Linked DNA regions of Homo sapiens: regions 2, 3 and 4 are each linked to region 1. Evidence: promoter capture Hi-C in 16 types of primary human blood cells and fetal thymus (Javierre and others, 2016). All regions are on one chromosome and are shown on one strand. The core of a region is centred on a gene start or on the middle of the fragment in contact, and the rest is flanking DNA. Distances in the headings are between cores, read along the strand shown. Region 1 holds the start of POM121L2 (POM121 transmembrane nucleoporin like 2). Region 2 has its middle 9.7 kb from the start of TRI-TAT2-3. Region 3 holds the start of TRI-AAT8-1 (tRNA-Ile (anticodon AAT) 8-1). Region 4 overlaps LINC01012 (long intergenic non-protein coding RNA 1012).

The links. The method cuts DNA at HindIII sites, captures the fragments that hold promoters and counts their contacts. A CHiCAGO score of 5 or more calls a contact.
Region 2: a fragment that was not itself captured here is called in contact with the fragment with the promoter of POM121L2 in region 1 in 2 of 17 cell types (erythroblasts and M2 macrophages); the score reaches 5.3 in erythroblasts.
Region 3: a contact is called between a fragment that was not itself captured here and the fragment with the promoter of POM121L2 in region 1, in 7 of 17 cell types (total B cells, naive B cells, total CD4 T cells and 4 more). The highest score is 13.0, in total B cells.
Region 4: a contact is called between a fragment that was not itself captured here and the fragment with the promoter of POM121L2 in region 1, in 3 of 17 cell types (naive CD4 T cells, M1 macrophages and naive CD8 T cells). The highest score is 8.3, in naive CD4 T cells.

Annotation. Positions count from the first base shown.
Region 1 is chr6:27,310,649-27,313,530 of GRCh38, reverse strand. POM121L2 (POM121 transmembrane nucleoporin like 2) reads left to right here and starts at 1,258. Exons shown (of 1, transcript NM_033482.4): 1 at 1,258-2,882. The coding sequence starts at 1,361. It overlaps LOC105375107, which reads right to left and starts at 1,362. Exons shown (of 3, transcript XM_011515048.2): 1 at 1,339-1,362; 2 at 917-1,208; 3 at 1-686. The coding sequence starts at 1,362. The coding sequence ends at 319. RefSeq lists a silencer at 907-1,201. The HindIII fragment of the contact is 14,547 bases long and covers 1-2,882 here.
Region 2 is chr6:27,639,627-27,642,559 of GRCh38, reverse strand. No RefSeq gene overlaps it. Among named protein-coding and RNA genes, the nearest start is that of TRI-TAT2-3, 9.7 kb to the right of the region's middle. The HindIII fragment of the contact is 1,285 bases long and covers 673-1,957 here.
Region 3 is chr6:27,666,707-27,670,065 of GRCh38, reverse strand. TRI-AAT8-1 (tRNA-Ile (anticodon AAT) 8-1) reads right to left here and starts at 1,483; the gene lies at 1,410-1,483. LOC124901292 (a long non-coding RNA gene) reads left to right here and starts at 1,493. Exons shown (of 2, transcript XR_007059535.1): 1 at 1,493-1,718; 2 at 1,938-3,094. RefSeq lists silencers at 119-168, 2-296, 1,329-1,518, 1,265-1,547 and a cis regulatory region at 1,107-1,625. The HindIII fragment of the contact is 4,511 bases long and covers 1-3,359 here.
Region 4 is chr6:27,703,984-27,707,073 of GRCh38, reverse strand. All of the region lies in intron 2 of LINC01012 (long intergenic non-protein coding RNA 1012), which reads right to left. The region is part of intron 1 of LOC124901291 (a long non-coding RNA gene); the gene reads left to right. Among named protein-coding and RNA genes, the nearest start is that of LINC01012, 11 kb to the right of the region's middle. The HindIII fragment of the contact is 4,279 bases long and covers 1-3,090 here.

The DNA.
Region 1 (2,882 bases), core at 9-2,508:
TGCATTCTCATCAGTAATGAATGAGAGTACCTGTTACTCCACCTCCTCCTTAGCATGTGGTGTTTTGAATTTTAGCCAATTGAATGGTGTGTAGTAATATCTTACTGATGTTTAATTTGCAATTATGGTATCTTACTGATGTTTAAATTGCAATCAGAAGTATTTACTGATGTTTAGTTATATATAGCTAAATATTGACATATAGCATATGTCAATGATGTTTGGCATCTTTTTATACTGTTTACCATCTGCATATCTTCTTTGGCGGGGTTTCTGTTTAAATATTTTGCCCATTAATTTTTTACCTTATTATGAGTTTTAACATTCTATGTATATTTTGTATACCAGTGCTTCAGCAGATACATACGTATTATGCAAATATTTTCTCCAGTCTGTGGCGTGTCTTTTCATTCTCTTAACAGTGTCTTTCACAGAGCAGAAGAGAACAGGAGGTGGCCTGAGCAAGGGACTGAGCCAAGTGCTTGTGGAGGGCTCAGGTTCTGGGCCGTAAGATGCGATTTCCCATTCGCCCACTCCGGATCTCTGAGGCCACTCCTGACGGCAATCTGCATGAGTTCTCCAAGTGCGAATAGGAAGGAAACCTGGATTCGGCCGCTGGGAGACACAGGTGGATCTCAAAGGTGGCTGTGCGGCAAATGACTGACACCTACTGGCGGCGTCACGATCTGCAAAAAAAGAGAAACGCGGAAATCCTCAATCAGCTGCTTTCCCGACTGCTAGTGCCACAAATGCCATCCGGGCGGCACAGCCACCGGTCCAGATCTCCAGTCCTGAGCACCTGCGAAAGCCGCCCGCACTCACTCTACGGGGTGCGGATAGTGCTCCCCACTCAGACTCCGGGGATCCCGCGGGCCGACAGATCTGCGCCGGGGCCCTGAGCCGCCTGAGCCTGTACCTTCGAGGCCAGTAATAGTCGGAGCCTGGAAACTGTGCACCCACTCGATTCCAGCTCTGCGCCACTTGGTGAATCCGGACCACAGGGTCCCAGACAGCCGCTGCCGACGCCAGGGGCGAGGCGCAGTGAGCTTCCTCTCGAGTTCCTCTCCCCGCGCCAAGTACTGCAACTCGCTGCGGAGACAGCAGAGGTCTGACCGCCCCGCTGAGGTCTCAGAACAGCAAAGCAAGTTACTGGGACTGCCGAAGTCCCGCGTGTCCCCCGTTCCCGCGGGTGCCGGGCCTGGAGAGTGCTAAGCACCCTGAGACTCGCGCTTTCCTAGCGCGTGAATCCCAACCGTCAACCGAACACTGCGCTCTTCGACTCTGTCCGATTCTGCAGACGTCCGAAACCTCGGAAGCCAAAACCGTGCTTGAACTCACTGCCCGCGCCTCATCTCTCCTCATGGGCAGTTTCCTGAGCAAACTGGAACTTTCGCCCTCGTCCCCAGCCCAGGTGCGCACCGACTTGCCCGAGAGGCCCACGAAACGCCGGCCACCTCAGCCCCTTCACCAAGTTCATCGGGTTCAGTTCGTCCACCGCGCCCACCCTGCCCCACGGTATAGACCTGTGAGGAGGCGGCCAAACCTGGATCCTGCCAATCCAACCACGTGGCTGGCCAACGAGGCCTGGAGGCGCTTTCCCATGAAGAAGTCCCAGAATTCCCCCCTGGGGCCTCTCCCTTCAGACTGGTGGGAAAGTTACTTAAAGCGGACTATTTGGTCTCTTCGACATCCCAGGCCAATTTGGAGCCCAGTGACCATCAGGATCACTCCTCCTGACCAGAGAGTGCCCCCTTCCACTTCTCCTGAAGATGTAATTGCCCTTGCAGGACTCCCGCCCTCTGAGGAGCTCGCAGATCCATGTTCAAAGGAGACAGTGTTGAGGGCCCTCAGAGAGTGCAGAAAAGGGAAAGGGAGGTTGGAAGAACCACTATTCCCTGAGAGTCTGGACAGTAAGAGAAGGAGTCCAGAGACCAGACCATCGGCATTTAAGCCCCTGATGAAAAATGGAACCCTCACTTCTTTTGTGCCCAGGCCTGGGCCGCTGAAGAGAAGTCTCCACTCCTGGGGCTCAGATCACAGCTTGACTAAGAGGCCCAATTGCTCCTCCATGAGCTCCTTGGCCAGCATATACAGAGGTGGCACCCTCAGCTCCAAAAGGAATGCTATTGGCAGCTCTTACAGCTCTTGCAGAAATTTCTCAGACCCTTGGAAGAGAAGTGTTCCCAGTGTATCATTCGAGACACCAGAGTGGCCAATAAAAAAGGAAAAAAGTTGTCATCGGCCTTCCTCTCCAGTCCCACTGGTATCAGATTTTGAGTCCCTAGGAGGATCTGAAAGTTCTGGGCAGCAAAACCAGAAGATTCCACAGCTGCCGTCTAGCCCTGAGAACCTGGTGTCAGAGATCCCACCTCCCCAGCTTGGTTATGCAGTCTCTGATGAGAACTTGACTTTGGGGAAGAAAGCTGAGCTACAGGTAAGCAACAACGCAGGAGAAGATACAACTGAGGTCAACACAGACCCTTTCCCTGAGACTTGGCTTGCTATTCAGCCTTCCTTGTCTCTTGCTCTGCCTTCTTCAGAAACAGATCTAACCCAGGGAGCAAATCCTCAGTTGGAAAACTTAAGAAAAATGCAGAAGTCTCTAGGTCCACTGGCCTCTCCACAGTCCACGGGAGAGGCAACCAGTGTGGCCCATTCTCCTTTGAAGACACCCAGCCTACCGACCCCACCTGGGTGCTCACAGTCAGAGCTCCTTCCAGGCACCTCTCCAGACTCAAAGCCCACAGCTACTTTCATCCTGCTGACCCCCACCTCTCCCACATTACCAGTTACTGACACCACCTGGCCGCCTTCAACCTCTCAGGCTGACAGGTCTCCCATGCCCCCAGACCCACCTGCACCACCCACCATCCAAAGTACTT
Region 2 (2,933 bases), core at 66-2,565, 330 kb before region 1:
CTAATTTTGTATTTTTAGTAGAGACGGGTTTTCTCCATGTTGGTCAGGCTGGTCTCAAACTCCCGATCTCAGGTGATCTGCCCGCCTCAGCCTCCCAAAGTGCTAGGATTACAGGTGTGAGACACCACACCGGGCCCATTTTTATTTTTAACCAGGTTTTTGTTTTTATTTGTTTTGATTAACTACTGAATTGTAAGAGTTATGTATCTTGGAAATTAACCCCTTATCAGATATATGGTTTGCAAATTTGTTTTCCCATTTAATAGGTTGCTTTTTTTTTTTTTTTTTGCTGTGCAGAAGGCCTATAATACCAGCACTTCGGGAGGCCGAGGTGGGTGGATCATCTGAGGTCGGGAGTTTGAGACCAACCTGACCAACATGGAGAAACTCTGTATCTACTAAAAATACAAAATTAGCTGGGTATGGTGGCACATGTCTGAGGCAGGAGAATCACTTGAACCCGTGAGGTGGAGGTTGCGGTGAGCCAAGATTGCACCATTGCACTTCTGCCAGGGCAACAAGAACGAAACTCCATCTCAAAAAAAAACAAACAAACAAAGAAAAAGAAACTCTTTTGTTTGATGTAATCCCATTTTTCTATTTTTGCTATTTTGGGCTATGATTTTGATGTCATAGTAATTAAATCATTGCCAAGACCAATGTCCTAAAGCTTTCCTCCCAGAGTTTTATATTTGCAGATCTTAGATTTAAGTCATTAATCCATTTTAGTTAATTTTTGTGAATGGTGTAAACAAGGGTCTAATTTCATTCTTTTTCATGTGAATATCTAGTTTTCTCAACATCATTTGTTGAAGAGATCGTTTTTTTCCCATTGTGTGTTCTTGGCAACTTTGTTAAAGATCAGTTGGCCATATATTTATGGATTAATCTCTGGACTCTCTATTCTGTTATTTTGGTTTATATACCTGTCTTTATGCTAGTACCAGACTGTTTTAATAACTGTAGCTCTGTAGTATATGCTGAAATCAGGAAGTGTGATGTCTTCAGCTTTGTTGTTCTTTCTCAAGATTGACTTGGTGACTTTGGGTTCTTTGTAGTTTCATATGAGTTTTATATGAATTTTATGGTCTTTTTTTCTGTTTCATAAAAACTGCCAGATAGATTTGGATACGGATTGCATTAATTGTACATCACTGAAAATTTTAACAAACATTAACAACATTTCACCTTCATGATTAAGTTTAATTCTTTTTTAAGGGGGAGGGGTGCTACTATAAATGGGATTGTCCTTTAATTTTTCTTTTTATGTAGTTTATTGTTTATTATTTCATGTAGTTTATTGTTACTGTATAGTAATGCAAGTGATTTCTGAATGTTGATTTTATATTCTGCAAATATATTGAATTTTTTCATTAGTATTAACACTTCTTTTTAATGGAGTCTTTAGGAGTGTCTCTATAAAAAGTCATGTTATCTTCAAACAGGCTCAATTTTACTTCTTCCTTTCCAATTTGGATGCTTTTGATGGTGTTGTTTTTTTCTTATGTTGAGACAGGGTCTTGCTTGAACTCAGTCTTCAGGTTGACTGATAATGCATGATTCAAATCACATGATTGGTATTTCTGACGAGGTTATGGGGTGTGGCCAGCCTCATCTTAAAAAAAAATACACTATACCCAAGCGGGGTGGTGGGCACTTATAGTCCTAGCTACTTGAGAAGCGGAGGCAGGAGGATCCCTTCAGCCTAGGAGCTTGAATCCAGCCTGGGCAACATAGTGAAATGCTATCTCTTAAAACAAACAAAACACTACTGTTAGGTGGTCCAGCTTTTCATTACACAGGAAGAGATGGGCTCGTCCTCAGAAACTAATCTAGAATGACATCTGACAAAGAACAGAACATAAATAATTCTGCTTTTCTAGGAAACTAATAACAGAAACCAATAGCCTGTTCTGAGGAGAACTGGGTGGCTAGGATATAAGAAAAATGGTAAGCTTTACACAAAAAATATTTTAAACCATGCATATTATCTATGCAAAATTTTAAAGAATTAACAAACTATTACATGAAATACAGTTTAGAAATGACAAGAGATGGAAAAGACTATATTTATGCTCTGGATAAAATCACTTAGGGGAGCATTTTAAGGATACAGATCTTCTCAGTTTATACCAGAAATAGAAATGGAAATAGGGGTGAACAAAAGTAAACAAACAATAAAGAAATCCAGAAGATCAAAATGGAAAAAAAAAAAAAGAGGGAGAAAGAAAATTTTTCTACTATTGAAATTATATTCCATAAATAATCTAAAAAATTATTGGACTCTGGCCGGGCACGGTGGCTCACACCTGTAATCCCAGCACTTTGGGAGGCCGAGACGGGCAGATCACAAGGTCAGGAGATCGAGACCATCCTGACACGGTGAAACCCCGTCTCTACTAAAAATACAAAAAATTATCCGGGCGTGGTGGTGGGCACCTGTAGTCCCAGCTACTCGGGAGGCTGAGGCAGGAGAATGGTGTAAACCCGGGGGGCAGAGCTTGCAGTGAGCCGAGATCGCACCACTGCACTCCAGCCTGGGTGACAGAGAGACACTCTGTCTCAAAAAAAAAAATTATTGGATTCATTTTCACATGAAGATAAAAATTTTAAAAGTAGAATACTTAGCCCCTTTTGGTGGTGGTGTGATATCTCACAGTAGATGTTACCCAACATGGGGACTAAAACAAACTCATTTCAAATTCTAGTTGTTAGCCAAGCATATATATCAATCTTTCATTTGGCAGGAGTATATGCCAAATCTAGGAGAACCTTGGAGTTTTTAATGCTTAAAATTTCCAATATTCTCATCTGGAATAACCAAAAAGAGATACATTTTACATTTTTTTCCCCTTCTCATCATCCACATCCAAATCACCTTATTTTTTCCTCCTTTCCTTTCTATTCTTCTTATCTCTCCCCATAGTTCTGAC
Region 3 (3,359 bases), core at 717-3,216, 360 kb before region 1:
CTTCTCTGCCTCCCAGGTTCCCACCACTTTTCCTCCGCCCTGAGATCCTAGAGAAATAGAAGACAGGAGAATCGGCAGGGACAGAGATAGACAGACAGACAGACAGACAGATAGACAGATATCCCAGAAGAAGATGAGTGTGGAAGGTGGCAGCTTTGGGGCGGTGTCTGAACAGAAGGACCTCCTTTCTCAGCGACCAGGAAGATGGTGGAGGAGAGAGAGGCTGGGAGGCAACCACAGTCAAGCGGGGGAAAATTCCTCAAACTAAACCAAAAGAGCATCTTAATATGTGGCTCGGTTTCCGAACGTGTAGCTTGGATCTTCGCTCTGCATCTCAGGTGAGTTTACTTTAGTCACTTACCAGTATGCGCTGTCAGGGGCACTGCGGGTAAACGAATGAAACCACAAACCTGGTAGTCCAAATGTGTTGGGCTGTGGCCAAGTTGAACGGAGAACTGGCGATTCTTAAAACACCGCATTCACTTATATACTCTTTAAGCTAAAGGGGAGAAATTTTCCGTGAAAGCCAGTGGCAGCCTCACGTGGTGTGGGCATTTATTTGCCTTGGAAACTGCCTGGGATCAGAAAAAAAGAATGAAGCACAGCCATTGCGAGGAACAAAACCTCGTATCTTGCTGCTATTAGTATCACACTCTCACCAAGTCACTGGCCACGCTGAGCCTGCTTTCCTTTCCCTATCGAAACTCGTTTAAAGCGTCAAAATAATATTGTCTCCCTTTCAATATTGAGAATGAAAAAAATAGAAAAAAGTATATATTGCTTCCTAACGTTTCACTAAAAACTAAACAGGCAAATGTCATATCTCTTCTTAATTCCCCATTCCCTAAAACACACCCACCTAGCTGCCGCACTACTCCAACCCAATTTTCTTCAGTACATTCTTCCTAATGCTTGCATCTTTTTTGTTGTTCTTTGTTTGTTTTGAGACGGAGTTTCGCTCTTGTTGCCCAGGCCCAGGCTGGGGTACTATGGCACGGCCTCAGCTCACCGCAACCTCCGCCTCCCGGGCTCAAGTGATTCTCCTGCCTCAGCCTCCCTAGTAGCTGGGATTACAGGCATGAGCCCAGCTTATTTTGTATTTTTAATAGAGACGGGGTTTCACCATATTGGTCAGGCTGGTCTCCAATTCCCGACCTCAAATGATCACCCCGCCTCGGCCCCCCAAAGTGCTGGGATTACAGATTCGAGCCACCGTGCCCGGCCTGTTCTTTTCATTTTTCACAATAAAGGGAAACGAACGTAAATAGCCTTCTCGCTTGACGAATAAGAGGGCGTCTTAATTTCGGATTCAGAGCACCTGGGATTCGATTCGGAGCACCTGTGATTCGACAGGCTTAAATTAAAAGGCCTCCCTTCAGGTAAGTGAAGGGCCCCACTATGGCATCCAGTGGCCCGTACGGGGATCGAACCCGCGACCTTGGCGTTATTAGCACCACGCTCTAGCCGACTGAGCTAACCGGCCACACGAATGCGCTGCTGTTTTAAAGGAAACCATATATAAATTCGTTGATATTTTTGTTTTTCTAAATAAAACAGAACTTTTTTCTTTCTTACTCCTTTCAAGAGACCTTTGAGACTATATTTACAGACTTTAGCAAGGAAGTCCAAACTATTTTAACTCTGAGCCAGACTAGAAAATTCACGGAGAAATTTTTGACAGAGGATGTGGAAAAAGCGCTGTAATAGGATTTTCAATGGTGAGTGAAGGGAACCTCCTCTTTTTATTTTATTTTTGTTGTTGTTAGACAACAAATTTTTTTTTTTGAACGGCACTGCTCCTTGCGGAGTATGGCTAATTCAAAGGCAGTACGCCCAGAGTCGGCAGCCTTCTCTTTTTAGAGTCATGTCAGTGTACTGGATCGCAAGTTGCAAACTTCCCTTTAGTGACTTGTAACTTAAGGACTTATTATTTTCAGGTTGGTTCAAGACAACGCCGCCGAAAGGAAGGCGAATGGGGTTGAGGGAAAGAGCCGCGCCTTCTCAGTGTCTCTGAAGTCACAAACATAAGCACTGATGTAATCGGCGAAGATATTCAGGGGTGGAAACTGAGGTAGCCCAGCAGTACCGGAATTACATAGTAAATCTGGTATGTTTTTTGAGGGTGGTAGAAAAGGGCTACAGAGGTTTGCAGAAGGGCAAGGTTGTGGTGGCACCCCGCTAGGTATTAAGTCTCATTTAACAGCACTTGCTGTGTGTCACTCAAATTCTAACTTGGGAACCGAAGGATTTCAGCCCGAGTTGGAGAGGCCAGAATAAGTGAGATACGCTCTTTCATCCTTGGTCAGGCTACTGGTTTCATCACCTGGAGACAAGTTGAAAGAAACCTCCTGCAGCGTCAGGAACTATCTCTCTACATGTGCCTGGGGTTTCCTTCGTGTTTTTGGAACTTTCAAGATCACTGACGCCTAATAAACTTTTAACGAATATATTAGCAGTTAAATGAATCAGCAAGTAACGATTTTGTTGATTCTAAAACTGACGCTGGCGCGAGGAAGTGTTGGAATTCCAGTGTTACTCTTAATGTATTCAACGGTTAAAGACCGAAGTACCACCAGGAGCTTCGATGTTTTTCATTCTTCTAGTCCTCAAGAGGTTTTATCCTAGGTGTCAAGAACTGAGGCTTCTACTTGCTCAAAAATCACCTGAAAGTAAACTCTCTGATACAGTTCCTGCAGTAACACATCCTCTTCACCGGTCGCAAGGAATTACATTCTGGCTTTTGAGGATCCCTCTTGCACATTCTGACTGGTGTTTATATACCTCCGAAGTTCACATGTAAAGCCATACCAAGGGAATGAACTTGTCATATATGACATCAACACCGGAAGGATTACCCTTTTTTCTCCTTCAGATAAATGGGAGCTAATCTTCTAACATTCCTGTACTCTGTCCTGAGGCTTGTTGGTAGGCAGAGCTCTTCATGCTGTCCTGACTCTAACAGCACCAGCCTGGGTACTTGCTCTTTCTTTTGTAACGAAAACCAAATACTATTGAAGAAAATCTGCACCTGGGACTAGAGAAATCACATTTTTTGCTAGTAACACCTAAGATTAAAATCTGTTCTTCTACCCCACCCCCACCTTCAATTGTGTTTCCCGGATCCAAAAACCGTATTATTCTTTACTTTGCTTCAAATGAAATACTATGTGTTAACGTTACCAGCAGTAATTCCAGACAAAAAGAGGAGTTCAATACAAGGTTTTCTGTCCTTCCTTAACCGTAAACATGATATAAAATGAGGATCAAATCTCCGTTAATCCTAGATCCTAACTATCCCCATATCCTCCTCAGAGACTATCGAATTTCTTACTTTCTTATCTTCCCTAAAATAATCTATG
Region 4 (3,090 bases), core at 291-2,790, 390 kb before region 1:
AAAATGCTTAAACTGTACTGGGACATAGCAGGTGCTAATATGTATTAGCCAATATCATCAATTAGGACTGCATTCACTGTAACAGAAAATTCCACTCCAGTGGATTAAACAGGAAGAAGTCCTATCTCATTTAATAAGAGGTCCCAAGGTAAATCATCCAGAGGTGGCACTACTGTCAAGAATGTCCCCAGCTCCTGTCTTCTTGCTCAATTGCCTTTGTCCCATGGCTTTCATCACGGATGTATGATAGCTGCTGTTCCTCCAGGAATTCTCTCTGCATTCCTGAGAGGCAGAAAGAAGGGCAAAAATGCACAGGGCAAAGAATTGATGGAGTGTTCCAGCCAAGTTGCTCCCTTTCAAAAAATGTTTCCCGAAAACCCTAAATGACGCTGACTTGAATCACAATGATCAGATCCAGGTCACATGTTACCCCAACTACAGAGAAATCAGAAAAAGAAAGAATTTTTAGTTCTCCAGCCACTGTGGTGAAGGAAATCAAAGAAGAATGCAGTTTGAGACAGATAATATATTTCACTTGCCTGAAGGGTACCCATGAACACCAAGAAACTCGTGCAAAATATCAAGTGTATGTGTATTTTTCTGAAGAGTCAGTCCACAGCTTTCATGAGATCCTTAGAGTCCAAAAACAAGGGCTTTCAAGCCCTAGTTTCTTGACTTGAGGGCCTAAATGTTTTCACAAAAAGGATGTCTGCTCCTTTTCATCCCCTCTGTCTGCCATCACGTCAAATAATAAAACCTGAGGGCATGGAACTCTCTTAATTGCTGTATCCTTTCCTTTTTTCTAAAAGAAGATTGTGAATTCATTGTAAATGCTGCTTATACTATTATATACTTGTCTATAATTTGTCCTAAAGTATATTCTTTGGTGTGTGTATTTTTTTTTTTTTTTTTTGAGACAAAGTCTCGCTCTGTCGCCCAGGCTGGAGTGCAGAGGCGCGATCTCGGCTCACTGCAAGCTCCGCCTCCCGGGTTCACGCCATTCTCCTGCCTCAGTCTCCCGAGTAGCTGGGACTACAGGCGCTCGCCACCACGTGCGGCTAATTTTTTGTATTTTTAGTAGAGACGGGGTTTCACCGTGTTAGCCGGGACGGTCTCGATCTCCTGACCTCGTGATCCGCCCCCCTTGGCCTCCCAAAGTGCTGGGATTACATGCATGAGCCACCGTGCCCGGCCTGGTGTGTGTAGGTTTTTAATGTGATTTCCCAAATAGATAATATACTTTTTTTTTTTTTTTTTTTTTTTTTTTTTGTGAGACAGAATCTTCCTCTGTCACCCAGGCTGGAGTGCAATCGCACCATAATGGCTCACTACAGCCTCAAATTCCTAGGCTCAAGCCAATCTCCCACCTCAGTAACCTGAGTAGCTGGGACTACAGGCATGTGCCAATATACATAGCTAAGTTCAATTTTTTTTGTAGAGATGAGGTTTCACTATGTTGACCAGGCTGGTCTTGAACTCCTGGGCTCAAGCGATCCTCCCACCCTGGACTCCCAAAGCATGTCCTTGTATGTTTTCGTCCTTTGTCATTTGCATAAAGTTGGGGAGCAAGGAACATTAACATCCGAAATAAGTTGCTGTGTCCTGAATTTCAGCCTGGCAATAATACTTGGAGATTTGTGTTCTCTGACTGAAGAAACCAGAAGGGTTTTTAAAGATGAGAGGCAGTAACTGGATTTATTCTGGGGTGTCTGAAAGACTGACTAATTCAGGAGTAAAACCTAAACACTGAAGGATTTGCATTCTTCAACATATGACTTTCACTTAATGGGAAGACGGAAGACTTATCAACAAAACTACTGGGATCATCTGGAATCTCACCCTGAAAACACTTAGATCAAAAGTACTAATTGTGAAGTATCAGCTGAACAGTGTATAAAACAGGTTGGAAATGAGTTCTAAAATTATTAAAATGTTAGAATTGAGAAAGTTTAAATCTATTTAAGAATAGCACATAGGTTTATATTCTGGGTAAAATGCATTTAGAAAGTTAACGTTTGCTACTCCTGACAGTAATGAGTCTGAGTTCGGTAGAAAGAGCCTTCCCATCTACAAATCAGCCAAGAGAATGTTCCACTGTGCAGAGAACAAGCGATTTACAAGAAATGGGGAATACTTTTTAAAATAACGAGCTAGGCTGGGCGCAGTGGCTCAAGCCTGTAATCCCAGCACTTTGGGAGGCCGAGGCGGGAGGGTTGCTTGAGCCCAGGAGTTCGAGACCAGCCTGGGCAACATGGTAAAACTCCATCTCTACTAAAAATACATACAAAAAAATAAAATGTAGCAGGGTGTGGTGGTGCATGTCTGTAATCCCAGCTCCTTAGGAGGCTGAGGTACAAGAATCACTTGAACCCAGGAGGTGGAGGTTGCAGTAAGCCAAGATCGTGCCACTGCACTCCAGCCTGCGGGACAGACTGAGACACTATCTCAAAGAAACAACAACAAAAAAGAAATAAAATAACAAGCTAAAAAACTTTAAAAAGTCAGTCTTTCAATAAAATTAATTTTTGTTTTGTCCCAACAATGTTATGTTTAACATAGTTTTGTACCACTTTTCACAGTGAATCATTTTTATTTTTTTAATATCTAACTCAAGCCCCAACTTTTTTTTGCAGTTGAGATAATCTGACTTTCAATCAGCAGATGTATTAGCTCCCTTATGTTGGCCTTAACCTCTTTATGGGTTAAGAAAATTTGGAAAAGGTAAATGGTCATTTCCAAGTTAGGCTCTCTGATGAGAAGAATTCCTGAAATTTGAAAATACGCTGATCAAGTTCAGAGTCTCAGCTTTTGGTGTCTGTGCCCTTTAAACATCAAAAAAGAGAAGTGTGACAAATTGATTTTGGGCGGCCATAAAACCATGTTAAATGTTAATATGAATAGTTTCCTTAAATATGGAATTCCCTGCTGTCAAATGGGATGTTAGAAACTGGTTAGAAATTAGTCATATTTGCAAGCTCCCTTACTAGCAGATATCATGGGTTGAACTGTGTTCCACCAAAATTCATACGTTGAAGTCCTAAAACTTGGTACCTCAGAATGTGACCCTTATTTGGAGACAGTGCCTTTAGA